4 separate regions of the Homo sapiens genome follow, and all the other regions are linked to region 1. The links are contacts of gene promoters, found by promoter capture Hi-C in blood cells and fetal thymus (Javierre and others, 2016). All regions are on one chromosome and are shown on one strand. Each heading gives the region's core, a stretch centred on a gene start or on the middle of the fragment in contact. The rest is flanking DNA. Distances are from core to core; before and after follow the strand shown. Region 1 holds the start of MCF2L2 (MCF.2 cell line derived transforming sequence-like 2). Region 2 overlaps YEATS2 (YEATS domain containing 2). Region 3 overlaps LAMP3 (lysosomal associated membrane protein 3). Region 4 has its middle 4.2 kb from the start of LAMP3.

Region 1 (6,521 bases), core at 2,651-5,150:
TAGTGCCAGCCACTGCTCTCTAAGGGAGGTCCTTTGTCTGTCTTTCCTTTGTCAGAGGTTGCACTGACAGTTCACCCATAGTGAGGTGGAATCTACAGGGACGTGGAGCTTGAGCAATTCTTTTTTTTTTTTTTTTTTGAGACAGAGTTTCACTCTTGTTGCCCAGGCTAGAGTGCAATGGTGCCATCTCAGCTCACCGCAACCTTCATCTCCCGGGTTCAAGTGGTTCTCCTGCTTCAGCCTTCCGAGTAGCTAGAATTACAGGCATGTGCCACCACACCCGGGTATTTTTAGGAGAGGCGGGGTTTCTCCATGTTGGTCAGGCTGGTCTCGAACTCCCAGCCTCAGGTGATCCACCCGCCTCGGCCTCCCAAAGTGTTGGGATTACAGGCGTGAGCCACCGCGTCTGGCCAGCTTGAGCAGTTCTTTACCGGAAGGGAGAGAATGGTCTAGGTTTTGTAAAGGACAGAGTTTGGTCCTTTACAGTGGTATCTGCAAAATGAGGCTAAAGCCTTTAGAGTGTTGTTGTGAGGCCTCAATGGTGTTTGTAAAATGTCTAACATCATACTAGACACAGAACGGTCACTTGCTATATGGTGGTGGTAGTTGCTGTACCTGACACTGCCTATCACAACCATAGCGGATGTTCAGTAGATGTGAGTGATTGTTAATTGGTTCACTGGAGAAGGAAGCAGGCTTTTCTAGCTTGTTTCTCTGATTTTGCCAGCTGAGATGTCTTAGTCTGTTTTGTGCTGCGCTAACAGAAAACCATGGGCTGGGCAATTTATAATCAACAGAAATTGCTTTGGCTCCTGGTGTTGGAGGCTGGGAAGTCTAAGATCGAGGGGTGTACCTGCTGGGAGCCTTCATGCTGCATCATAACGTGGTGGAAGGCATCACATGGGTGAGAGGAAGGGAGAAGGGGACCAACTCCTCCTTTTATCAGGAACCTACTCCAGAGATAACAGCATTAACTCGGGACAAAGCCCTTATGACCTAATCACCTCTTAAAGGTCTTCTTTCTCAATGCTGTTGCATTGAGGATTGAGTTTCCAACACATGAACTTTGGGGAACACATTGAAACCACAGCACAAAGAGGCATAATATAAGAGATCATAATTAGGAAGGAGAAAAACAGGCAGGGAAGGTGGGAGGGTGGGAAGAAAGAAGACAGAAAGAATGTCAGTGTTCATGAGAACAATGGAGACAATGACCATTTTCTTGGAAGAACAAGGAGGTATGAGCTATTGAACACTATGTGGTCATTTCTTCTTCTTCTTCTTCTTTTTTTCTTTGAGATGGAGTCTCACTCTGTCACCCAGGCTGGAGTGCAGTGGTGCTATATTGGCTCACTGCAACCTCTGCCTCCTGGGTTCAAGCGATTCTCCTGCCTCAGCCTCCTGAGTAGCTGGGATTACAGGCGCCCACCACCGTGCCCGGCTAATTTTTGTATTTTTAGTAGAGATGGGGTTTCGTCATGTTGGCCAGGCTGGTTTCGAACTCCTAATCTCAGATAACCCACCCACCTCGGCCTCTCAAAGTGCTGGGATTACAGGTGTGAGATAATGCACCCAGCCGATCATTTCTTCTTAATTCCAGTTATAGGATTTCAGAGCTGGAAAAGGGAACTTGGAGATCACAGACCCACTTCCTTACTGCCCAGGGGAAGCAGTGAAGGCCCTGAGAGAGTAAGTGTCAGAGATAAGAGCAGAATTAGTTTCTGAGGATAGGCACTGCCTGCTACATCTCACCATAACTTGAGCTCATTTATCTCCATGGAAACCTTTGAGGACTGTGAAAGTACCAAAGATGTGGGCAGCACTCTGAGTGTGATTTATTTCCTTTCTGTTTTCTTTTTGTTCTCATTCTTAATCATAAGCTTCTCCTCCCTCCTTTTCCTCTCCTCCATTCCTTCTCTTCTTCCTTTTCATGTTTCTCACCCATAAGGACCCGGCCTAAGCCAGGAAGCTGAGGTTACTGGATCTTCAAAGTGGCTCTGACACTCCAAGTCCAACATACCCCACATCATTGTCTTCTTTACTAGGCGTTGGTTTCTGCTGACCAAAACTCACAGTTGGCTGTGACTGGGCACCAGGGTTCTGACTACTATCAGTAGGAAACATCTCATTTGGTTCCTTGAAAATTCTTGTGACCCTTGAACGCCGGAAACATAATTCAAAAGCTGCCTCCCCTCCTGCGGATCTTTAACCTTTCTTTTTTTTTTTTTTTTGAGATGGAGTCCCATTCTGTTGCCCAGGCTGGAGTGCAATGGCACGGTCTTGGCTCACTGCAACCTCCGCCTCCTAGGTTCAAGCAATTCTCCTGCCTCAGCCTCCCGAGTAGCTGGGATTACAGGTGCGTGACATCATACCCAGCTAATTTTTGTATTTTTAGTAAAATGGGGTTTCACTATGTTGGCCAGGCTGGTCTTGAATGCCTGACCTTGTGATCCGCTCGCCTTGGTCTCCCAAAGTGCTGGGATTACAGGCGTGGGCCACTACGCCCGGCCTTTTAACCCTTTTTTGAATCTCTTGCAAAAGGTGGTTGTGAAAATGGTTGCTCAGTGGCCGGGCATGATCACTTGAGTCCATGTGTTTGAGACCAGCCTGGGCAATATGGTGAAACTCCATCTCTAAAAACGAAAAAAAAAAAAAAGAAAGAAAAGAAAAAGAAAATCCTTGCTCTGTTTTGCAGGCAGAGTGCAAAGTGCCCAAACTTCACAGGGGGAAGAACCTCTCCACAAATCTCATGACACAGGTGAACTGACCTCGCTTCTCAATCACAGCCCACAATTGTTAGAGAAAGCATTAAAAAGGGCTGGGCGCGGTGGCTCACGCCTGTAATCCCAGCACTTTGGGAGGCCAAGGTGGGCGGATCACGAGGTCAGGAGATCGAGACCATCCTTGGCTAACACGGTGAAACAAACCCCATCTCTACTAAAAAATACAAAAAATTAGCCGGGCGTGGTGGCGGGCGCCTGTAGTCCCAGCTACTCGGGAGGCTGAGGCAGGAGAATGGCGTGAACCCGGGAGGCGGAGCTTGCAGTGAGCTGAGATCGCGCCATTGCACTCCAGCCTGGGCGACAGAGCCAGACTCAGTCTCCAAAAAAAAGAAGAAAAGAGAAAGCATTAAAAAAATACCCTCAGCCCCCTGTGATGGGTGGCTACTCCTAGAATTTGGATCCAGGGTGTTTGCGGCTTGGCTTTTTACATATCGAAGAGGAAAGAGATGGCTGAGAACATCCGCCTGGGTGGTCCCGCCATTCCGCCTGCTGAGTATTCAGGGACTCCCGCTGTAGAAAGGATTGGGGGACAACCTGACCGAATTCGCATTTGCTCAGGCGTTTCCCGTAGCGCTCTGCTGAACTGGGGTTAGTCTTTTGCTGCCAGTCAGAAAGTGTCTGGGCCCAACTAGGGAAACCACGGGATAATGGGCTGATGGGGAGGAGGACCAGCATGGAGGATGTGCCACAGCCCCTCCAGAAGGTAGCACTGGCGTGCCTGACAGGTGACAGACGGAGCAGAGGCAAGGGCGCAGCTGCACGAAGGAAAACGCCCACATAGGGGGTGAGCGCGCCCACGCGTGCTCAGCCTTGTCGGAGCGCAGCCCGGGCGCCGGGCTCCCAGTGCAGGTGTGGCCAGCGGAGGTCAAGAACTGCGTGGAACAACCCCAAGTGGGGGAAAACACACGCCAGCCGCCCCCGGGGTCAGGAGGTGGGGCAAGCAGCGGCGCCTCACCCAGCCTCCCGCTCCGGGTCCTGCCGGATGGCGGCAGCTCTCCGGGCCAGCCCCCTTCTCTCCGCGGCTCCTCCGCAGACACCCGGCGCGGAAGAAGGAGGGGCGGAGACCTGGCCGGCGCGCGTCTGATGATCCGGACCCCGGTGCGACTGGAGCGCCTCAGTCACTGTCTCCCCGCCCCACGGTTCCGAGTAAGGACCGGAGCTCCACTCCGGGGGTGGAGCGCGGGCTCCCCGCAGGGAAAGGTGCGCAGCGTTCCCGACCCCAAAACGAGCGGCGCTTGGGAGCGTGCGTGCCTCCCCGAGAGCCCCGGGCGCCACCCGTGGGCTGGACGAGGTGGGCGCTGGGGCGTGGGGCCGGCGGCGCAGAGAAGCCACGGCCACCTGCCGCCTCCCCTGCACCTGGCGGAGCATCCCTCACTCTACAGTCCCTGGAGGCGGCGCCGGAAACCTGGCGGCCGGGACCGCGATTCTGGAAGCCCCGGAGCTCGCCCGGCCGGAGGAGCCGGGGCGCGGTTCCGGCGAGATTGGCGACTTGCTTCCTTTTGCAGAACGGCCGCTCCTCTCTCGGTCCAGCTGCGACGCTGGGAAAGCGCCAGACTTGGTCTGTCACGGGAGCCCCCGCGGGGCGTGGCGAGGGAGAGCTGGCCTAGGCTGCGAGGGACTCTCGTTTCTTGCCTGGAGAGCCAGGAAGAGGGCGAGGGCAGAGCATCCTTGGGCGGAGATGCCTTTAAAAAATCATCCACCGCAGCGGTAGAAACAGTTTTGTTTGGCTTTATTTATACGGAATGGTTTTTCAGTGAAATGCTGTCTTGCTTAAAAGAAGAGATGCCTCCCCAGGAGCTCACCCGGCGACTGGCCACAGTGATCACTCATGTCGGTAAACGAAGCTTTAATTTTTCCTGCGTTTTATTAATGGCGGGTGAGGATGGTCTCTGGGCTTCATCTGGCTCCTGGCCTCACCCGCTGCCCCGGGGCAGCGCGCTTCCTGGGGGGTTGCCCGGCATCTGGGCCTCGCTGCTCTGGGTCCTGCCTGCGGTGCCCAGCGGGGGGCATCCCTGGGGCGCGCCGCTGGTGGGGGTCGGGGGGCCGAGGCTGGTGCCTTCACCAGGTGGTTGCCGAGTCCGTTGAGCTCCAAACCGAGGGCTGCTGGGCTGTTACCATCCGTTAGCTGCTTCTGACGGGAGTAGGGTGGGTGGGAAGTTATGTTCTGGTTTTGGGGATAGTGAGAAAGGAGAGGGCATAAGAGGAACGAATGCCAGTGCTTTTCAGCAGAAATGATTGCCACGCCACTGAAGGCTTGTTTATAAGAAAGTGCAGGGAGAGGCAGGTTACATGGGAGCGCCCCTGCGCAGCTCGGCCGCTAGGCCTGTTTTACTGTGCTGCCTGGAGGGTTAAGCACACCCCTGATGATCCCCGCGAGAAATCTCTGCAAGCCAAGGAGACTGAGCAATTTTAATCTTCTTCCCTGAGTTGAAAAGAGGAGCAAAACATGCATTGCTTGCTCCTGAAATAAGGGTTGTGATGGAACGTCAGGCCCCACAGACTAAGTAAGGGCAAGAGGACATTGAGACAGTTCCCAGTCAGTTTTTTCTTAGCACTTTCTTCCCCTTGGCCTTCCCTGGACCTCCCTCAGTAAAGACACACATTCAGGTTCAGAACCTCTGGATGTGGGCAACTGGAATTATCGGGATCATTTTCTCTGTTGCTGACTGTGCTTGGAGGTCCTCCCATGAATGCAAATCAGCTTTTATTGATAAAGCCAGGAACTATTTGCCTTGGTTTTCTACACATTTGTGAAAGCTGCTTTCTTGGTACTTGCATGTTAAATGTTGCCTCAATTAGTCCAACGTGTTTGCTGTAATAATCGTGCACATCTCAAATGATACACTTGTGAGGACATACTTTGTAAAGATGATTTATATGGGAAGGCCCAGTTTTGATAATTCAAGTTTAGAAAAAAGTTTCTGGTGCCAATTGTGGGCACTGAACTTTTACGACAAAAGATCAGTAGGATCCTACCAGGTAAGGTTGAATGTGAAATATTGCTGAAGGCAGTGTGAAATAAGAGGAAAAAGAACTTGTAATGAAACAGAATTCGGAATCTGCAATATGATGAAAGTTGAAATGATTGTGCTAAAACCCAGCACAGGCATGAAGTTGTGGTATAGAGAAAGAGCAGTGGACTCGGGGTGTGACCGTCTGGATTTGAATCTTTCCCTGGACAAGTCATTCGACCTCAGGTTGAAAAATAGGAATTTTAATAGTACTTTCCCACTCAGCTCAAAGGCTACTTGTGAAGATAAGTAAGATAATTTGGGTAGAAATACTGTGTACACTGTGATTATACAGACATTTCAGTTATTAGACATATCCCTGGTCCCTCTGTCACGCCACTAAAGATCTTTGGTGGGTTACTGGGCCTCTCTCAGGGCGAAGCCTCCCATCTGTTAAACGAGGGGTTGACCTGGATGATTTTAAAGGTCCCTCCTATTTCTCTGGAGCAGGCTCTTCTTGAAAATCTGGCAGGCAGTATTCCTTGACTAACACTTAGCTGCCTGTGGCGCCCAGGCTATGGTATTTTCTTGCCTACCTTGCTCCCTCCCTCCTTCTATAGACAGCTCCATGCAGGATACACATAGGAATTTGTTGTAGTTTCTCCTTTCAACCTCTAATGACCCTTGGCTTTTGTGTGCTTTGCAAGATTCTGTCTCCTCATACTTAATCTAATAAAACCTGTGAAATGGGTGGGGTACTCATTACTACCCCTATTTTACAAATGAA
Region 2 (6,521 bases), core at 1,328-3,827, 290 kb before region 1:
TTGTTTTAATAATGTAAATTTAGTGTTGCCGGGCGCGGTGGCTCACGTCTGTAATCCCAGCACTTTGGGACGCCGAGGCGGGTGGATCACGAGGTCAGGAGATGGAGACCATCCTGGCTAACACGGTGAAACCCCGTCTCTACTAAAAATACAAAATATTAGCAAGGCGTGGTGGCGGGTGCCTGTAGTCCCAGCTACTCGGGAGGCTGACGCAGGAGAATGGCGCGAACCGGGGAAGCAGAGCTTGCAGTGAGCCGAGATCACGCCACTGCACTCCAGCCTGGGGGACAGAGCAAGACTCTGTCTCAAAAAATAAATAAATAAATAAAAAAGTAAAGTTAGCAATTTTTTTAAGCTTGCTTAAGACATTCTGAGGAACAACAGACACCCAGTTGATGATTTGCTCTTCAACTACTTATATATGTTAGGTAAGTAATCTGATGTCTCTGAACCTTAATTTATCTACTATTAGCTAAGTACAAGGGTTGAACTAGATCGATGTTTCCTAATCTTCTACCATTCATATGCCTTCAAGATAGCTACCACATCTGAGAACCATATGACACATTTAATTAACAAGCATTTAAAAATAATTTTAGCTTTATCCTTGTAGCTATGGAACTACAAGTTTGATGAGATCATTCTTTTTTCTATATACATTAAAATGTTACCTATTAAAATTAAAAACCTTAATCCATGTACCATCTATGACCATCTCACGATTATAGCACACCTTTATACATATCATAGACTTTATGATTACACCTAACATACAGTGATCGCTAAAACTCACAGTTTGTCTCGCTTTCACTGTCTGCTTGATCATGTTCCTGCCAGATCTTCTTCCACTTTTTACAGCACACATGGTGTATTACTATTAAACAGATCCCTTAGCTAATCTCTCTCACGAACCCCTTCAAATTATACATAACAGTGGAAATTCATTTCATTCTAGTTCCTGTAAGTTTTCTAGCGGAGGCATATGTCAATAAAGAAATAATTTCCTAAGGCAGGATTTCTACCTGAATTCTCAATTGCTTTATGCCGCTTATTTGGAAGGGCCACAGATACATCCTCGTAATCAGGGTCGGTTTCTTTGATGGTTCGCTTGATTCCAGACATGATGACATTCAGTTCTTCACTGTGAAGCAATGATAAATTAATAATTTTTAATTATTCAGTTAAATAGTTGGGTTGTAGTAACACTGCATACCAGTACTTACAAATATATGTGTACAAACAAAATAAATAAATAAATATTACATTAATACTGGTACTTGCAAGTCTGTGGGTATGTGTATATACACACATATACATATTTCTTTTAAGGCCAAAAGCCTAAGTTTAAAAGTTTCCACCAAAAAAAAAAAAGAAATCATAATCATCTGTTAACAAGCATGGGTTTCCCTTTCAAGAGAAAAATCCTTGAACAAAGTAGCACATTGTTCAGACTTTTCAAAAGGAGCCTGGCTTTCATGGAAGAGCCCTCATAAGGAAAGGAAAGGAACCAGACTTTGATGAAAACATGGTTAGCCCACACAGTGTCTTAGAATTCACTAAGCATTCAGCATATTAGAAAATATAAGCAACATAGTTAAAGGCTCAATAAATAATTGATTATACAGATCCTTTCTCTGGTACTTAGCAGGTATCACTATTACTGATCATTATTACAATAAACACAAATCTATAGACTTATATTAAACTAATTAACAAGTCTGCAATACGGTAAACAAGCCCCACATACACAAGTCTTTGAATAAAACAATCCCATTAAAAAAAAAATCCCGGCCGGGCACGGTGGCTCACGCCTGTAATCCCAGCACTTTGGGAGGCCGAGGTGGGCGGATCACGAGGTCAGGAGATTGAGACCATCCTGGATAACACGGTGAAAACCCGTCTCTACTAAAAATACAAAAAAAAAAGACGGGCATGGTGGCAGGCACCTGTAGTCCCAGCTACTCGGGAGATTGAGGCAGGAAAATGGCGTGAACCCAGGAGGCAGAGCTTGCAGTGAGCTGAGATCGCGCCACTGCACTCCAGCCTGGGAGACAGAGCGAGACTCCATCTCAAAAAAAAAAAAAAAATCCCATAAATCCTCTAGACCTTTACTGTCTCAGTACATTAACCACTAGCCTTATGTGGCTGTTTAAATTAAAATTTAAAAAAATTTAAAATTATGGGCCGGGTGTGGTCGCTCATGCCTGTAATCCCAGCACTTTGGGAAGCAAAGGTGGATGGATCACGAGGTCAGGAGTTCGAGACCAGCCTGGCCAGTATGGTGAAACCCCATCTCTACTAAAACTACAAAAATTAGCTGGGCATAATGGTGGGCACCTGCAGTCCCAGCTACTCAGGAGCTGAGGCAGGAGAATTGCTTGAACCCGGGAGGCAGCGGTTGCAGTGAGCCGAGATCGTGCCACTGCACGCCAGTGTGGGCGACAGAGCAATACTCCGTCTCAAAAAAATTAGTGCTCGAGAGTCACCGTAGCTAGTAGCAACTACATTGTTCAGTGTAGATACGAAACATTCACATCACTGCACGAGTTTATTGGACAGTGCTCCTCTTCCAAAGTGCTTCATTAAGCAATGATACATATTTCATGAGTCAGTTTCAGAAATATCATCCAGACCAGTGCTGTCCAATAAAAATATAACATGAGCCACGTACAGAATTTAAATTTTCTAGCTGCCAGGTTTCTTATTGATTGATTGATTGATTGAGACGGAGTCTCACTCTATTGCCCAGGCTGGAGTGCAGTGGTGCAATCTCGGCTCACTGCAGCCTCCGCCTCCCGGGTTCAAGCAATTCTCCTGCCTCAGCCTCCTGAGTAGCTAAGATTACAGGCATGCACCACCACACCCAGCTCATTTCTGTAATTTCTGTATAGACAAGGTTTCACCTTGTTGGCCAGGCTAGTCTCAAACTCCTGACCTCATGATCCACCTGCCTTGGCCTCCCAAAGTTCTGGGATTACAGGTGTGAGCCACCGTGCCCAGCCACAGCCACGTTTGAAAAAGGGAAGTGAAATGGGTGAAACCAATTTTAACAATATATTTTACCTAACCAATATATCTAAAATATTATCACCCCAACAATGTAATTGATATAAATAAATCAGCAATTAGATTTTACGTTATATTTTTACCAAGTTTTTAAAATCTGGTGTGTATTTTACACTTACAGGACATCTTAATTTGTATTAGCGGCCTGTACAGGCCATGTACAGGCAAGGTGGCTCACGCCTGTAATCCCAGCACATTAGGAGGCTGAGGCAGGCAGATCATTAGAGGTCAGGGGTTCCAGACCAGCCTGGCCAACATGGTGAAACCCCGTCTCCACTAAAAATACAAAAATTAGCTGGGCCTGGTGGCGGGCTCCTGTAATCCCAGCTACTTGTGAGGCTAAGGCAGGAGAATCACTTGAATCCAGGAGGCAGAGGTTGCAGCGAGCCAAGATCACACCACTGCACTCCGGCCTGGGCAACAAGAGCAAAACTCTCTCGAAAAAAAAAAAAAATTTGTATTAGTATTAGCCACAATCCTAAGGCTCAATAACTACTTGTGGCTGGTGGCTCCCTTTCTTCGCAGCCTGGATCTATTGATTAAGATAAGGAAACAGGTCCAGGGTGGTTAGATTATCCCTTACAGTGTTAATCTATGAAAGAGACCAGAATAGCTCTCTGATTTCCAAATCTCTGTTCTACCACTAAGGAAGATTCCCTAGCCAGAGGCAGAATTACTGAGGTAACAACATGTTTTAAAATAAAATTAGGCTGGCTGCGGTAACTCACGCCTGTAATCCCACCACTCTAGGAGGCTCAGGCAGGTGGATCACCTGAGGTCAGGAGTTCAAGACCAGGCTGGCCAACATGGTGAAACCTCGTCTCTACTAAAAATACAAAAAAATTAGCTGGGCATGGTGGCTCATGCCAGTAATCCCAGCTACTCAGGACGCTGAGGCATGAGAATCGCTTGAACCCAGAAGGCAGGTTGCAGTGAGCCGAGATTGTACCACTGCACTCCAGCCTGGGAGACAGGGTGAGACTCTGTCTCAAAAAATAAAATAAAATAAAATAAAATAAAATAAAATAAAAGAACATAAAATGCTAACTCAAAAATACTCATTTTGTATTCACTCAAAGTTAAAACAAAAATAACAATTTAGGCCGGGTGCAGTGGCTCATGCCTGTAATCCCAGCACTTTGGGAGGGCAAGGTAGGCGGATCATGAGGTCAGGAGTTCGAGACCAGCCTAGCCAACATGGTGAAAATCCATCTCTACTAAAAATACAAAAATTAGCCAGACGTGGTCATGTGAGCCTGTAATCCCAGCTACTCAGGAGGCTGAGGCAGGAGAATCGCTTGAACCCGGGAAATGGAGGCTGCAGTGAGCCGAGATCATGCCATTGCACTCCAGCCTGGGTGACAAAGCAAGACTCCATCTCAAAAAACAAAGAAAAAAAAAAAACACACTATTTAAAAGTCCCTCAGCTCTTAGTCCAGTTCTTTCACTCATCTCAGAAACAGACTCACTTGACTCAGCTAGGAGAGTGGCTCATTATGTAATGTTACATATGGAAGTCCCACATCTGAGAGAACACTTTTCCTACAGCTGTTATCTGCTGTTATATCACTAATCTTAAAAATATTCTAAAACCCCCAGAATTTATAAACATCATGAATCAAGCCATTTAATGTTTGTTCATATTCATCCGTTACCTGCTACAATTCAGAATATAAATGACTATTTTTGGACAGGCCCAGAACCCAACTATTATGTTTTATGTTTAAAGCTTTTTTTTTTTTTTTTTTGAGACAGAGTCTCGCTGTCTCCCAGGCTGGAGTGCAGTGGCGCGATCTCAGCTCACTGCAAGCTCCACCTCCCGGGTTCACGCCATTCTCCTGCCTCAGCCTCCCGAGTAGCTGGGACTACAGGTGCCCTCCACCACGCCCGGCTGATTTTTTTTTTGTATTTTTGTGGAGACGGGGTTTTACTGTGTTAGCCAGGATGGTCTCAATCTCCTGACCTCGTGATCCGCCCGCCTTGGCCTCCCAAAGTGCTGGGATTACAGGCATGAGCCACTGCGCCCAGCTGTTTAAAGCTTTTAAAAAGTAAAAGTAAGGTCTTGTTTCTTCAGCCTTCTCCATTTGGTCTGCAATTAATTTTAGACAGCCTCAGAAAATCTTGGGCTGTTACATAAAAAAGACAACTTTAAAAAAAAATAAACTTAATTTATTCTTCCTTAATGCAGATAGGAATCTAAAAACACCTAATTACACATGAACCTAGAATCAGAGGTGGATATAGCCCAGCAGATACCTAAACTTGTCCTTGTACCATACTACTTCCTCATCAGGCACCTGTCTTCCACAGTTTGCCAAGAGTCATAGGAGATTATCTACAAAGATGAGTCCCCCTCCAGCATCATCCTCACTTATCCATTCTACAGACTTCATAATCTGTATATTCTTATCCTACCTTCCAAGTAATCTCAAGAATAACGGTGGCTCCCACTAAAATGGCTGGGGATCCTTGAAGAAAAGTTATTTTTATTTTATCCTCACTTAAGGGACTTAAAAAAAAAACCCTCTCTTTGACTTTTGGTGTAAAACTGGAAGACTAGGAAGAGAAAAGAGAGGAATTTGGGGAGGGGGTGGGCAGAAAGGAAGAAACCAACAATGAGTTCATTTGTGCTGCCAAGATAATTCATTTTTTATGCAGCCTTTAGAATAAAGCTTTTCTTGTTGCATGTGGGCATATATTTGAGCTTCTTATAAACACATTTAAGAGGATTAAGCTCTATACTGGGCATTTAAAAATAATCCAGGTCTGCTTCTGTCTCACAAGAATAATAATGTGTAATGTGCACATGTCACATGCAAGTAACTGCTAGCTAGCTAAGACTAGGCACATCTGCTGAGGCATGCTCTCATGATGATATAATAAATAAGTGAACAGAATGTGTAACAAATGACCAATGATAACATTACCTTCTGGACTCTTCTTGTCTGACTTGTAGATTTTATGAAAAGGAAACATGAGCAGTTGTTAGATATGGTCAATTCAACTTGGAAACAAAATGTCCAGCTAATCCTCTATAGCTTCTGAATCAGCTGAAATTGAAAATACTGAGATGGTACTAGGAACTGCTAGGAAAAAAATCTGTTATCATATACAATTTGACTGTGAGAAAGAATTTTCTCTATACTCTGAGACAAAAACTGAATACGGAAATAAATGTAACGCTGCGACTAAAATAAGACTACTGTCATCCATTTCTCCAATTTAAACTTTTTATCTCGGGTCAGGCATGGTGGCTCACGCCTGTAATCCCAGCACTTTGGGAGGCCGAGGTGGGCGGATCACAAGGTCAGGAGATGAAGACCATCCTGGCTAACATGGGGAAACCCCGTCTCTACTAAAAAAAATACAAAAAATTAGCCGGGCGTGGTGGCGGGCACCTGTAGTCCTAGCTACTCCGGAGGCTAAGGCAGGAGAATGGCGTGAACCCGGAAGGT
Region 3 (6,521 bases), core at 1,593-4,092, 280 kb after region 1:
GCGCATTCCTGTAATCCCAGCTACTAGGGAGGCTGAGGCAGGAGAATCGCTTGAACCCAGGAGACGGAAGTTGCAGTGAGCCGAGATTGTGCCATTGCACTCCAGCCTGGGCAACAAGAGCAAAACTCTGTCTCAAAAAAAAAAAAAAAAAAAAAATTTGAGCACCATGCTGGCCAAAAAACATACAACTGAAGGCCAGATTTGGCCTGTGGATTCTGACCCTGTGACTTCTGCCCTAATGGGTGTATTGTATGAAGTGTATTTAGGTAAGAAAGCCTTCTAGATTTTTCCAAAAGAGAAATGGACTCAACCATTCAGTCAGTCGCTTTTGAAATGTTGCTGCTTTCTAAACCAGCACTTCTCAACAGCAACAGTATTAACATTTGAGGCCAGATAAGTCTTTGTGTGGGGACTACCTTGTGCCTTGAAAAATGCTCAGCAGCATTTCTGGCCTCTATCTCCAAGATGTCAGGAGCAACTGCCCACCCCAGTCTGACAACTCAAAATGTCTCCAGACATTGTCAAATGTCTCCTAGGAGGCAAAAATCATGTGCAGTTGAAAACCACAGCTCTAGAGAAAAAGAGAACCTTAGAAAATGTGAGTTTATTCATTATAATATAATAGATGTTATGAGAGCTAAGTTGTAGAATGATAAATGGATGTTGATTAGGCCTGATTTATCAACTCGTTTATTAGTAAGAATTTACTGAGCACCTACTTTGTCCCTAACAATGAGCTTGGCTATGAAAGAAAAATAACAGAAATATAGGCTATAGTTCCCGCTTTCAATCTGTAGGGTTTTGTTTGTTTGTTTGTTTTTGAGACCAGGTTTTGCTCTTGTCGCCCAGGCTGGAGTGCAATGACATGATTTCGGCTCACTGCAAACTCTGCCTCCTGGGTTCAAGTGATTCTCCTGCCTCAGCCTCTCGAGTAGCTGGGATTACAGGTGTGCACCACCACACCCTGCTCATTTTTGTATTTTTTAGTAGAGACGGGGTTTCGCCATGTTGGCCAGGCTGATCTCGAAGTCCTGACCTCAGCTGATCCGCCCAACCTCGGCCTCCCAAAGTGCTGGGATTACAGGTGTGAGCCACTGTGCCCAGCCCAATTTGTAGTTTTTTAAATTGAAATACTACCAATGACAACAACATAAAGAAAAATCAGTCACTTAACCTTGTTGTTCAATCAAGGCAAATTATCCATATCATTCGCTTTGTGACCATGGACAGGCTGCTCATGATCTCTGAGCCTCAGTTCCTCTTCTATAAGATGGAGCCAACGAGTGCTTATTTTGCTGGGCTGCCATGAGAGTGTGCTGAGCTAAAGAATGTAAAAGTGTTCAGCGTGGTATTTGGCCCCTAGAGGGGTCAGGAGAGGTGGATTTCCTTTCTTTTTTTCCCGCAGTTTCATTTTTTAAAGAACTGAAAACCTTTCCCTGTCAGTGTCTCATTTGGTTAGGGTGACATGCTGAAAGTTGTTCAGACCCTTCCAGTTCAAGATCACATGCATCTCTCCCCACACCTCCCTACAACATCCTTCCTGGTGGGATAGTTGCTTTTAAAACATTCTGCAGTAACTTCATTCTGTGCACAGGACTATCCCTTTCTCCTCCACCCCTTTGGCCGGGCAGCTCTAGGTCTCCAGCCCTGGCTCGTGAAATCAACCATCAAGAGAGGAGAGGTGCGAGGGTCAGGCAGTGCACTGGCCGACTGAGGTCCTGGAATCAATGCTGCAGACCCACCTGTTGTTTCCCCAGAGCTTTTTTTGTTTTTTGAGAAAGGGCCTCCCTCTGTCACCCAGGCTGAAGTGTGGTAGCACGATCAGGCTCACTGCAGCCTCAGCCTCCTGGACTCAAGTGATCCTCCACCTCTCAGTCTCCTGAGTAGCTGGGACTACAGGTACATGCCACCATGCCCAGCTAATTTGTGTATTTTTTTCTAGAGACAGGTTTTCATTATGTTGCTCAAACTGGTCTCCAGAGCCTTTGAGGGGCATTTGGAACCCTCTTGGCCTACGAGCTGGGCTTCTGAGGACTGTGACCAGTGTTCAAGTGTTGACACCCTCACAGTGCACACTTAGAACTCCCCAAGTGATCTGTACTTTCCATGCTCTTTTTCCCCTGGTACTTTTCCCTCTGCCTAGAAGGCCCCTCCCACCCCTCAGCTCCTTTAGCATCCATCCTTAAAATAACTCAAATATCATCACCCTGTGAAATTCCCCCTTCCCCACTTCCACTTCAGGTAAAATGAGAGACTTCCTCCTCTTAGTTCCCTGAAACTCTATTCATTGTTCCCCAAACTTCATCAATGCACTTGTCACACATTTTGCCATCCCCAAGGCAAAGTCTATGGCTCCTTCACGTCTCTTCTCTAGTGCTCACCCCGACTTCGCATATAGTATATCTTTAGCAATGTTTGATAAACAAATGTATCAATGAAGGAGAAAATCTAAATTTTGCAGAGAACTCTGGGTCAAAGTGCCAAAAAGTAGATCACAGGTTCCTTTTGCTATGTCCAGAACAAAGCTTTCTTGATTTAGTCACAACAATGCTGAGCGAAAAGGACATGATTGATGCTGAAGACAAAATCCACATCCTGAACAGCTGGGACTATGAAACTTCCACGGTGTGTTTTGCAGAAGTGGACAGGGGGACCTTAGGACCCCATGGTTATTGGCATGCTGGCGTCCTGGGCAGGATGAATTGGGCTGGTTGGTGCCAGACCCCCGTATGTCTGCAGAAAGGTAGACATGTTGGTGGACCCACAGTTTTGCTAAGGAGGATGTTAAGGTTCCTTGACGGATTAACAAAGGACCACAGAGCCTAAAATATTTCTGGAAAAAAGTTTACCAAAGACGATTTTATTTCCTTTAAGAATATTCAGTAACACTACAATTCTACAGAATAAAGTGGTACAATTGTCTAAGCCTCATTCCATAGCATAAATTGTGTAAAACTTGGAATCTTTTTTTTTCTTGGAAAGAGACACTTAATAGGGATGTATGAACAGAAGCCATGTCTGTCTTGAATGGTGATGAGACAAGATGGTATATCCCCACGCCATTAACCCTGAGACCCAGGGCTTAAATACCATATGGAAAGGGTGAGTCAGAAGAGATGTGTAGGACAATTGAAGTATGATCATGTCAAGTCAAGCTTGTAATCTTAAGAAAACTAAATATCCCCCTGTCCTTTTGTTTACATGAATCCACCTAACAGATACTTTTCCTTTACTCTAAAGATAGACATCATGGCTAGACATAGTAGCTTATACCTCAAGCCTCATTCCTTGTCAACCCAACACCTTGAGAGGTCAAGTAGGGAAGATCTCTTGAGGTCAGGAGTTCAAGACTAGCCTGGGCACCATAGTGAGATCCCATCTCTATAAAAAAATTTTTTTTAAATTAGCTGGCTGTGGTGCCACGTGCTTGTAGTCCCAGCTACTTGGGAGGCTCAGGCAGGAGGATCACTTGAGCCCAGCAGGTTGAGGCTGCAGTGAGCCAAGATCTTGCCACTGCACACCAGCCTGGGCGACAGAGGGAGACCCCAACTCAAAAAAAAAGCTAGACATCAGCTTAGTCCTAGTCAATGTTTCACTAATTTTGACTCAGTCAAAATGGAAAGAATTCTGAGTACAGCTTCCAGACTCTGTCCTGTGTGTCCTTAAGATGAACTCAGAGTGAATGTGAGCACCCTGCTTACGGAAGGCCTCATTTTTTGATTAGCCCTAGAAAGCGCAGATTCTTGTGGAACAGCAGTGGCCCTGCCCATCAGGGACGGGTTCACAGGTGTTCTGCCTGTGCATCCGGAAGGGCTCAGACTTGTTTTCATGCTTTGCTGTTGCCCCATGAAATTCTTGATTTTTGAACACATGGCCCGGCACTTTCATTTTTTACTAAGCCCCAAAAATTCATTATGTAGCCAGTCCTGCTTCCCATCAATGGTTATAGGTTTCAGCTGCATTTCAGGGAATGTGAAAGTAAATTCTCACATAATGAATTTTTGTTCTATACCCACACATCCCATGGAGGAAAATGTAGGGCAGGATCTTGCTTTGTCTCACCTACAAACTACATGCATCTGCGGTAGATGCTTAACTCTTCTGAGCCTCTTTGTTCTCAGCTGTAAAATGGTCTGTTAATATCGATTCTGTCTCGGGGTCGTTGTAAGGATCAAGTGAGGCAATGTCAGTGAAAGCATGCACGTGGCGAATTCTGAAACTCTCACAGAAATGCCAAGCATTCTTCCTTTAGGAGGGACAGGTCAGGGAGACACCAAAGGGAAGATTCCAAGAGGCCTCTGAGGAGTCTTTGCTGACCTCATCACTATTCTGCTGCTCCTCAAATCAATCTCACAGTGCAGCCCGAGCCATTTACAAAAACAAAGCTATGCTCATGTCACTGCCCTGCTTAAAACCCTTCGATGGACGCTCTTTGCCCTTAGGGATGGGGCGGGGGCCTTGTAACCCGGACTGTGGACCCTGAAATATAAGTCTCTCTTATATTAAAAGAGGCTCCAAATTTTAAAAATGCCCCAAATAAATGGTATATTAAAGCAACACAAAGATGGTCTCTTTTTAAAAGAGATGTTTCTCCCTAAAGCAAATGGATTGTCTAAAGGCATTGTTCAACTTGCCTTCAAGAACCAAGAGACTGAGCACCTTGACGGAGGCAACCAGGTCCTCTCCCAGGACCAAGAACAATCCCTGGCATGGAGTGGGTATGAAAGAGACGTTAAAGGCTAGACTTGAGGCAGGCAGAGCTGGAGGTCATATCTTCCCCTGCCACCTCTTAGGGCTGTGACCTGGAGCAAGTCACCCAGCCTCATTTTCTCTCATGATTATTGTGAGGATTAAATAAGGCAAGTGCTTGGAAGTGCCTGCGACAGTGCCTAACACGGGGTAAGAAGCTATTGTGTGGTAGGTGCTATTCAATGAATTGTAGGATCTAGAGCTCAGTGTATCAGTATCAATGACCTTACTAAAACAGTTTCTATTTATGGAACCCTTTGATTGTATAATGAATCAACATTTTATCCACTAATACACAAATGAGCTATAATGTGGTCAAGATTAGTATTGTTAAGTTTCTCTAATGACTATATTTGAAACCTCTAAAAGTAATTCAATTTCAGGTTTTGATTTGGGTTGCTCTGCCATTTTTGCATCTCTTAACTTGTAAATGGTTTTCTAAGGAATGTTTAAAACTGAGAACACTGTGGATCACCTCAATTAAAAAATAGAAACTCCCTTTTCAACTTACCCTTCTACACCCCAATTCAGTTCCCTAGAAGGTTTCAGACCCTTTGTTTTTATAGGGCTGTTTTGTAGTTTGTTTTTGTTTTTCTGGAAAGATAATTCCTAGATGAAATGTGGGGGTGCTGCTTTAGGTTTTAAATACAACCACTTGGGGTTCTCTTCTAGAGAATACCCAGGGATCTCAGGGTAAGGCATGTCTTCCCATAATCCCTCCCACTGGCCCCATTTAGCCATTTTGAAGACATAGACCCATTAATCTGTGTAAAGCCATTCACACCCTACATAAGAACATGTACACACCATTTTGTATACATTGTTTTTCCCAGAGGGTTTATGGACCCCGGGAGGTCCTCCCATGGTATCCTTAAGGATGAGCCTTCTAAGCCAGATGGAAGGTCTTAAAAATAAAAGGAAAGGATGAGTGGTCTCAGGATAAGAATTCCTACCCTTAGATATTAATTGCTAGTAAACACTTAATATATGCTCCTGCTCCTCCATCTTCCCAATGGACTTGCATTTTAACAGGGAGAAATTTGGCCCAACCGAAGGGACTCAAATTGTACTGGTGGAATTTGAATACCAGGCCCTAGCAACTAGTATGCAGTAGGGAAATTTGGGGCCAGGGGAAAACTGTTAGTTATTATTTATTTATTTGTGGTATGTTTACTTTTTTGGAATTTTCATACACAATTATGACCCAGTACCAAGTAACTCCCCAGCCCTTATATCCAGATTTAATAGCTGGAATCTTAAACAAAGTTTATAAACCAAGATTGTAAACATATGAGTAGAGATAACCCAAAGGTTAACACCCTACTGTTTTACAGGATGAAGAATCATATTATATCAGTGAAGTGGGAGCCTATTTGACCGTCTCAGATCCAGGTTAGTAATTACAGAATGCCCATTCGACCAGCCATGACGCTGTTTCTGTTGGTTAGCTCACCTTTCATCCCATTGAATCTTCTCATGTTTGATGCTGCTTTTTTTTTTTTTTTTTTTTTTTTTTTTTGAGATGGAGTCTTGCTCTGTTTCCCAGGCTGGAGTGTAGTGGCACGATCTCGCTCGGCTCCCTGCAACCTCTGCCTCCCGTGTTCAAGCGATTATCTTGTCTCAGCCTCCCAAGTAGCTGGGATTACAGGCGTGTGCCACCACACCCAGCTAATTTTTGTATTTTTAGTAGAGATGGGATTTCACCACATTGGCGAGACTGGTCTCAAACTCCTGACCTCAGGCGATCCACCCACCTCAGTCTCACACAGTGC
Region 4 (6,521 bases), core at 3,471-5,970, 260 kb after region 1:
TCCCTTAAACCTTGATTTTATACAACACATGTTTTTGTGAGCTCCAAGTTGGGTCAAAGTGGCTGGGGCAAAGTGGCTGGGGCAAAGCTACAAATTAACATCTCAGCAAAGCAATTGTTTGAAGTACAGGTCTTTTTCAAAATGGAGTCTCTTATGTCTTCCCTTTCTACATAGACACAGTGACAGTCTGATCTCTCTTTCTTTTCCCTACATCAATTAGTTTAACCTAATTAACATTTATAGGTCACTGAATCCAACAATGAGAGAATACACACATTCTTCTCAAGTGCACACAGAACATTTAACAGGACAGTCCACTATTATGAGTTAAATTGTGTCCCTCCAAAATTCATATGTAGAAGTCTTGATATGGTTTGGCTGTGTCCCCACCCAAATCTCAACTTGAATTGTATCTCCCAGAATTCCCATGTGTTGTGGGAGGGACCCAGGGGGAGGTAATTGAATCATGGGGGCCGGTCTTTCCCATGCTATTCTCGTGATAGTGAATAAGTCTCATGAGATCTGATGGATTTATCAGGGGTTTCCGCTTTTGCTTCTTCCTCATTTTCTCTTGTCACTACCACGTAAGAAGTGCCTTTCACCTCTCACCATGATTCTGAGGCCTCCCCAGCCATGTGGAACTGTAAGTCCAATTAAACCTATTTTTCTTCCCAGTCTCAGATATGTCTTTATCAGCAGTGTGAAAATGGACTAATACAGTAAATTGCTACCAGTAGAGTGAAACGTTGCTGAAGATACCTGAAAATGTGGAACAACTTTGGAACTGGGTAACAGGCAGAGATTGGAACAGTTTGAAGGGCTCAGAAGAAGACAGGAAAATGTGGGAAAGTTTGGAACTTCCTAGAGACTTGTTGAATGGTTTTGCCCAAAATGCTGATAGTGATATGGACAATAAGATCCAGGCTGAGGTGGTCTCAGATGGAGATGAGGAACTTTTTGGGAACTGGAGCAAAGGTGCCTCTTGTTATGTTTTAGCAAAGAGACTGGCCACATTTTGCCCCTGCCCTAGAGACTTGTGGAACTTTGAACTTGAGAGATTATTTAGGGTATCTGGTGGAAAAAATTTCTAAGCAGCAAAACATTCAAGAGGTGATTTGGGTGCTATTAAAGGCGTTCAGTTTTATAAGGGAAGCAGAGCATAAAAGTTTGGAAAATTTGCAGCCGGACTATGTGACAGAAAAGAAAAACCCATTTTCTGGGGAGAAATTCAAGCTGGTTGCAGAAATTTGCATAAGTAGCAAGAAGCCTAATGTGAATCCCCAAGACCATGGGGAAATGTCTCCAAGGCCATGTCAGAGACCTTCACAGCAGCCTCTCCCATCACAGGCTTGGAGGCCCAGGAGGAAAAAGGGGTTTTGTGGGGCAGGCCCAGGGTCCCCATGTTGTGTGCAGCCTAGTGACTTGGTGCCCTCTGTCCCAGCTGCTCCAGCCATGGCTGAAAGGGGCCAATGCATAGCTTGGGCTATGGTTCAGAGGGTGGAAGCTGTGGGGCCCTCAAGGAGAACCTCTTAGGGCAGTGCAGAAGGGAAATGTGGGATCAGAGCCCCCACACAGAGTCCCTATCGGGGCACTGCCTAGTGCAGCTGTGAGAAGAGGGCCTTTGTCCTCCAAACCCCAGAATGGTAGATCCACTGACAGCTTGCACTGGGTGCCTGGAAAAGCTGCAGACACTCAACACCAGCCCATGAAAGCAGCCTGGAGGGAGGCTGTACCCTGCAAAGCCACAGGGGTGGAGCTGCCCAAGACCATGGAAACCTACCTTTTGCATTAGCGTGACCTGGATGTAAGACCTGGAGTCAAAGGAGATCATTTTGGAGCTTTAAAATTTGACTCCCTCACTGGATTTCAGACTTGCATGGGCCCTGTAACCCCTTTGTTTTGGCCAATTTCTCCCATTTGGAATGGCTTTATTTACCCAATACCTGTACCCCCATTGTATCTAGGAACTAACTAGCTTGCTTTTGATTGTACAGGCTCATAGGCGGAAGGCCTTGTCTCAGATGAGACTTTGGACTGTGGACTTTTAGGTTAATGCTGAAATGAGTTAAGACTTTGAGGGACTATTGGAAAGGCATGATTGGTTTTGAAATGTGAGGACATGAGATTTGGAAGGACCAGGGACAGAATGATATGGTTTGGCTGTGTCCCCACTCAAATCTCAATTTTAATTGTATCTCCCAGAATCCCCACATATTGTGGGGAGGGGGGGACCAAGGAAGAGGTAATGTATTCATGGGGGCTGGTCTTTCCCGTGCTGTTCTCATGACAGTGAATAAATCTCATGATATCTGGTGGGCTTATCTATCAGGGGTTTCTGCTTTTGCTTCTTCCTCATTTTCTCTTGCCGCCACCATGTAAAAAGTCCCTTTCGCCTCCCACCATGATTCTGAGGCCTCCCCAGCCATGTGGAATTGTCCAATTAAACCTCTTTTTCTTCCCAGTCTCAGGTATGTCTTTATGAGCAGCGTGAAAATGGACTAATACAAGTCTTAACCCCAAGTATCTCAGAATGTGACTATATTCGGAGATAGGGTCTTTAAGAGGTAAAACGAGTTCAAAGAGTAGGCACTAATCCTACCTGACTAATGTCCTTATAAGAAGAGGAGATTAGGACAGACAAAGGCATGCACAGAGGGATGACCATGTGAAACAAAGGTGTCTACTAGCCAAGGAGAGAGGCCTTAGAAAGAACTAACCCGGGCCGGGTGCAGTGGCTCACGCCTGTAATCTCAGTACTTTGGGAGGCCGAGGCGGGTGTATTACCTGAGATCAGGAGTTTGAGATCAACCTGGCCAACATGGTGAAACCCCGTCTCTACTAAAAATACAAAAATTAGCCAGGTGCAGTGAGAGGCACCTGTAATCCCAGCTACTCGGGAGGCTGAGGCAGGAGAATCGCTTGAGCCTGGGAGGCAGAATTTGCAGTAAGCCGAGATCACACCACTGCATCCCAGCCTGGGTGACAGAAAGAGACTCTGTCTCAAAAAAAAAAAAAAAAAAGGAAAAAGAAAAAACCAACCCGGCTGACACTTTGATCTCACATGTCTGGTTTCCAGAATTATAAGAAAGCAAATGTCTGTGGTTTAATTACCCAGTCTGTGGCACTTTGTTATGTCAGTCCTGAAAACTAATGTAACCAACCATAGTCTTGGTCAAAAAACAAATATCAATAAATTTGTAAGATTTAAGTCCATAATTATGTTTTCAACCACAGTGGAATTAAAAATCAATAAAAGAAAGATATCTGAAAAACTATATGTTTGGAAATGAAATAATGCTATTTTAAATAACCATGAGTCGAGGAGATAGCAAAAGGAAATTAGGAAGTCTTTCTAATTATATGAAAATGAAAACATATTAAACTTGTGGGATCCAACTAAAGTAGTAATTAGAGGGACGTTCATAACAGTAAACCTGTTTATTAGAGATGAAGAAAGATTTTATACCACTGGCCTCAACTTCCATCTTTTTTTTTTTCTTTTTTTTTTTTTGAGACAGAGTCTAGCTCCTGTCACCCAGGCTGGAGTGCAGTGGCGTGATCTCAGCTCACTGTAACCTCCACCTCCCGGGTTCAAGCGATTCTCCTGCCTCAGCCTCCCGAGTAGCTGGGATCACAGGTGCCCACCACCACACCCAGCTAATTTTTGTATTTTTAGTAGAGACGGAGTTTCACCATGTTGGCCAGGCTGGTCTTGAACTCCTGACCTCAGGTGATCCTCCCACCTCAGCCTCCTAAAGTGCTGGGATATCCCAGGCAAGTTCCATCTTTGAAAACTATTGAAAGAGGAGCAAATAAAACACAAGTTAAGTAGAAGAAAGAAAATAATAAAGATCAGGTAGAAATGAATAAAACAGAAAACATAAGAACAATGAAGGAACTCGATGAAATGAAATTTTTTTTTTTTTCTTGAAAACATGAATAGAATTGATCAACCTCCAGCCAAACTTATCAGGGAAAAAAGAGAGAAAATACAAATTATTAATATTAGCAGGGAAATAAGAGAGAAAATACAAATTATTAATATTAGTAATAAAAGAAGTGACATCACTACCTATACTACAGATATTGTAAGACAAGGGATTGTTATGAAAAGCTTTATGCTAATAAATCCAACAACTTAGTTGAAATAAAAACCTTTTTTTTTCCTCTTCTTTTCTTTTTTTTAGACACAGGGTCTGGCTTTGTCACCCAGGCTAGAGTGCAGTCGCTTGATCGCAGCTCACTACAGTCTTGACCTCTCAGGCTCAAGCAATCCTCCTGCTTCAGCCTCCCAAGTAGCTGGGACTACAGGCATGTGCCACCATGCCCAGCTAATTTAAAAAATTTTTAATAGTGGCAGGGTCTCCCTGTGTTGCCCAGGCTGGACTTGAACTTCTGGCCTCAAGTGACCCTCCCACCTTGGCCTCCCAAAGTGCTTGGATTATAGGCATGAACCACTGTACCAGCCAGAAAACGTTTTTTGAAAATAATAAACTATGATACTGCGATATAATAATATATCTTTGGTCTCTGTCCCAGTTTCTAAGACAGAGCTCCTAAAATCCTTATATGCCAGAGTTCTAGGAGAATCTTTTGTTTTAATACTTGGTCTTTGACCCTGGTTCCTGAAACAGAGCTCCTAAATCCCTTGGAATTTCCAGGGTAAGAGGAGCAGCTTTATTTTATTTATTTTTTTTTTTTTGAGACGGAGTCTCCTTCTGTCGCCCGGGCTGGAGTGCAGTGGCGCGATCTCCGCTCACTGCAAGCTCCACCTCCTGGGTTCACACCATTCTCCTGCCTCAGCCTCCCGAGTAGCTGGGACTACATGCACCTGCCACCACGCCTGGCTAATTTTTTTATATTTTTAATAGAACTGGGTTTCACTGTGTTAGCCAGGATGGTCTCCATCTCCTGACCTCGTGATCCGCCCGCCTCGGCCTCCTAAAGTGCTGGGATTACAGGCGTGAGCCACTGCGCCCGGCTATGTGCTTAAAATCCTAGACTCTCAAGGCAGACAAGATTTATGGTCAGGTTTCGGTATTTATTATCTAAGTGACTCTGGGCAACTCCCTTCTTTGTGCTTAGTTTCTCCATCTGCGAAATGGGGCAGCGATAATAACAACAGTGTCCATATAGAGTGGCTATGGCGCTTAAATGGAATAAGAAGAGTGCCTGGCACACAGTCTATACCCACTTAATTATCGTCTTTTGAATAAACTGTCTCAAAGATCAGAAAGCAGGTAGTTGCTGAAACTAGGTTGACTGGCACAAGTTAACCCTCACTTTTCACCATAAAAATTCCATTCTGAAACACACTGCAAGCTTTGGTTAAGTTTACTTGATTAGTGTTTGGAGCAACATAGTAAGACAAAATAGTTGTAGCCAAAGTTATTTTTCAGAAAATAATTTGAGGCTAGGCTGAAAGCCCTCAATCTAGTGATAAGGAGGGTCTCCTAATATACTGCTTAAATGTGTATTCCCCACTGGGACTCAAGCCCTGTCAAAACATCGTTGTTTTGACAGACAATCCAATTAATAGAGGAAGGAGATAAGACATTAAAAGGTTGCCTGTCAGCGTTGTTGAGCCGTGGGCCGTGGCTTACGCCTGTAATCCCAATGGTTGGCTAACGCAGGAGGATCATTTGAGGCCAGGAACTCGAGACCAGCCTGGGCAACACAGCGAGACCTCCTCTCTACATAAAATAAAATAAAATAGCTGGGCGTGGTGGCACGCGCCTTTGGTCCCAGCTACTCAGGAGGCTAAGGTGGGAGACTCACTTGAGGCCAGGAGGTCGAAGTTGCAGTGAGCCGAGATCACGCCACTGCACTCCAGCCTGGGTGATAGAGCGAGACCCTGACTCCAAAAAAAAAAAAAAAACGATATTGTGTGTTTTTTGTTCCAGGATTTTCTGGTCTGTAAAACCACCTGGGGCCAGGCACAGTGGCTCACGCTTGTAATCCCAGATCTTTGGAAGGCCGAGGCGGGCGGATCACCTGGGGTCAGGAGTTTGAGACCAGCTTGGCCAACACGGTGAAACCTGGTCTCTACTAAAAATACAAAAAATTAGCCGGACGTGGTGGCGCACATCTGTAATCCCAGCTACTGTGGAGGCTGAGGCAGGAGAATCGCCTGAACCCAAGTTTGCAGTGAGCCGAGATCACGCCATTGCCCTCCAGCCTGGGCGACAGAGTGAGACCCTGTCTCAAAAACAAAAACAAAAACAAACAAACAAAAACAAAGAAAGAAAAAGAAAAAAGAAAATAAAAAAACACACTGGGAGTGGGCATTATTATGTCCGTTTTACAGCTGAAGAATCCAAGGCTCCTAGAGGTTCCCCGACGCCGCACGCCGGGGAGTCGGCAGCGCGAGCTCCCAGCCAGACCTAGCGCCTCTGGGCTGTGCTCCTGTTGCTTCCCGCAAACCGCGGTCCTGGCGAGGCCTGGGCGTGGAGCGCGGCTGCCGCAGACTCCCTGGGAAGACATGGAGTCAGGGTGCTTAGGGGTTTTTAGGCTCCTGCTCG

The links. Contacts are between HindIII fragments. The CHiCAGO score rates a contact against its expected background, and 5 or more counts as called.
Region 2: a fragment that was not itself captured here is called in contact with the fragment with the promoter of MCF2L2 in region 1 in 5 of 17 cell types (M1 macrophages, erythroblasts, activated CD4 T cells and 2 more); the score reaches 5.9 in M1 macrophages.
Region 3: a contact is called between a fragment that was not itself captured here and the fragment with the promoter of MCF2L2 in region 1, in 8 of 17 cell types (M1 macrophages, M0 macrophages, M2 macrophages and 5 more). The highest score is 15.5, in M1 macrophages.
Region 4: a contact is called between a fragment that was not itself captured here and the fragment with the promoter of MCF2L2 in region 1, in 5 of 17 cell types (M0 macrophages, M1 macrophages, erythroblasts and 2 more). The highest score is 10.9, in M0 macrophages.

What each region holds. Positions count from the first base shown.
Region 1 is chr3:183,425,998-183,432,518 of GRCh38, reverse strand. MCF2L2 (MCF.2 cell line derived transforming sequence-like 2) reads left to right here and starts at 3,900. Exons shown (of 30, transcript NM_015078.4): 1 at 3,900-4,617. The coding sequence starts at 4,542. RefSeq lists a silencer at 4,071-4,150. The HindIII fragment of the contact is 2,747 bases long and covers 1,883-4,629 here.
Region 2 is chr3:183,709,764-183,716,284 of GRCh38, reverse strand. It overlaps YEATS2 (YEATS domain containing 2), which reads right to left. Exons shown (of 31, transcript NM_018023.5): 2 at 1,023-1,141. The coding sequence starts at 1,122. Among named protein-coding and RNA genes, the nearest start is that of YEATS2, 15 kb to the right of the region's middle. The HindIII fragment of the contact is 4,440 bases long and covers 358-4,797 here.
Region 3 is chr3:183,140,158-183,146,678 of GRCh38, reverse strand. LAMP3 (lysosomal associated membrane protein 3) reads left to right here. Exons shown (of 6, transcript NM_014398.4): 4 at 6,084-6,141. Among named protein-coding and RNA genes, the nearest start is that of LAMP3, 19 kb to the left of the region's middle. The HindIII fragment of the contact is 630 bases long and covers 2,528-3,157 here.
Region 4 is chr3:183,163,672-183,170,192 of GRCh38, reverse strand. It overlaps a transcript of LAMP3 not described here. Among named protein-coding and RNA genes, the nearest start is that of LAMP3, 4.2 kb to the right of the region's middle. The HindIII fragment of the contact is 1,208 bases long and covers 4,117-5,324 here.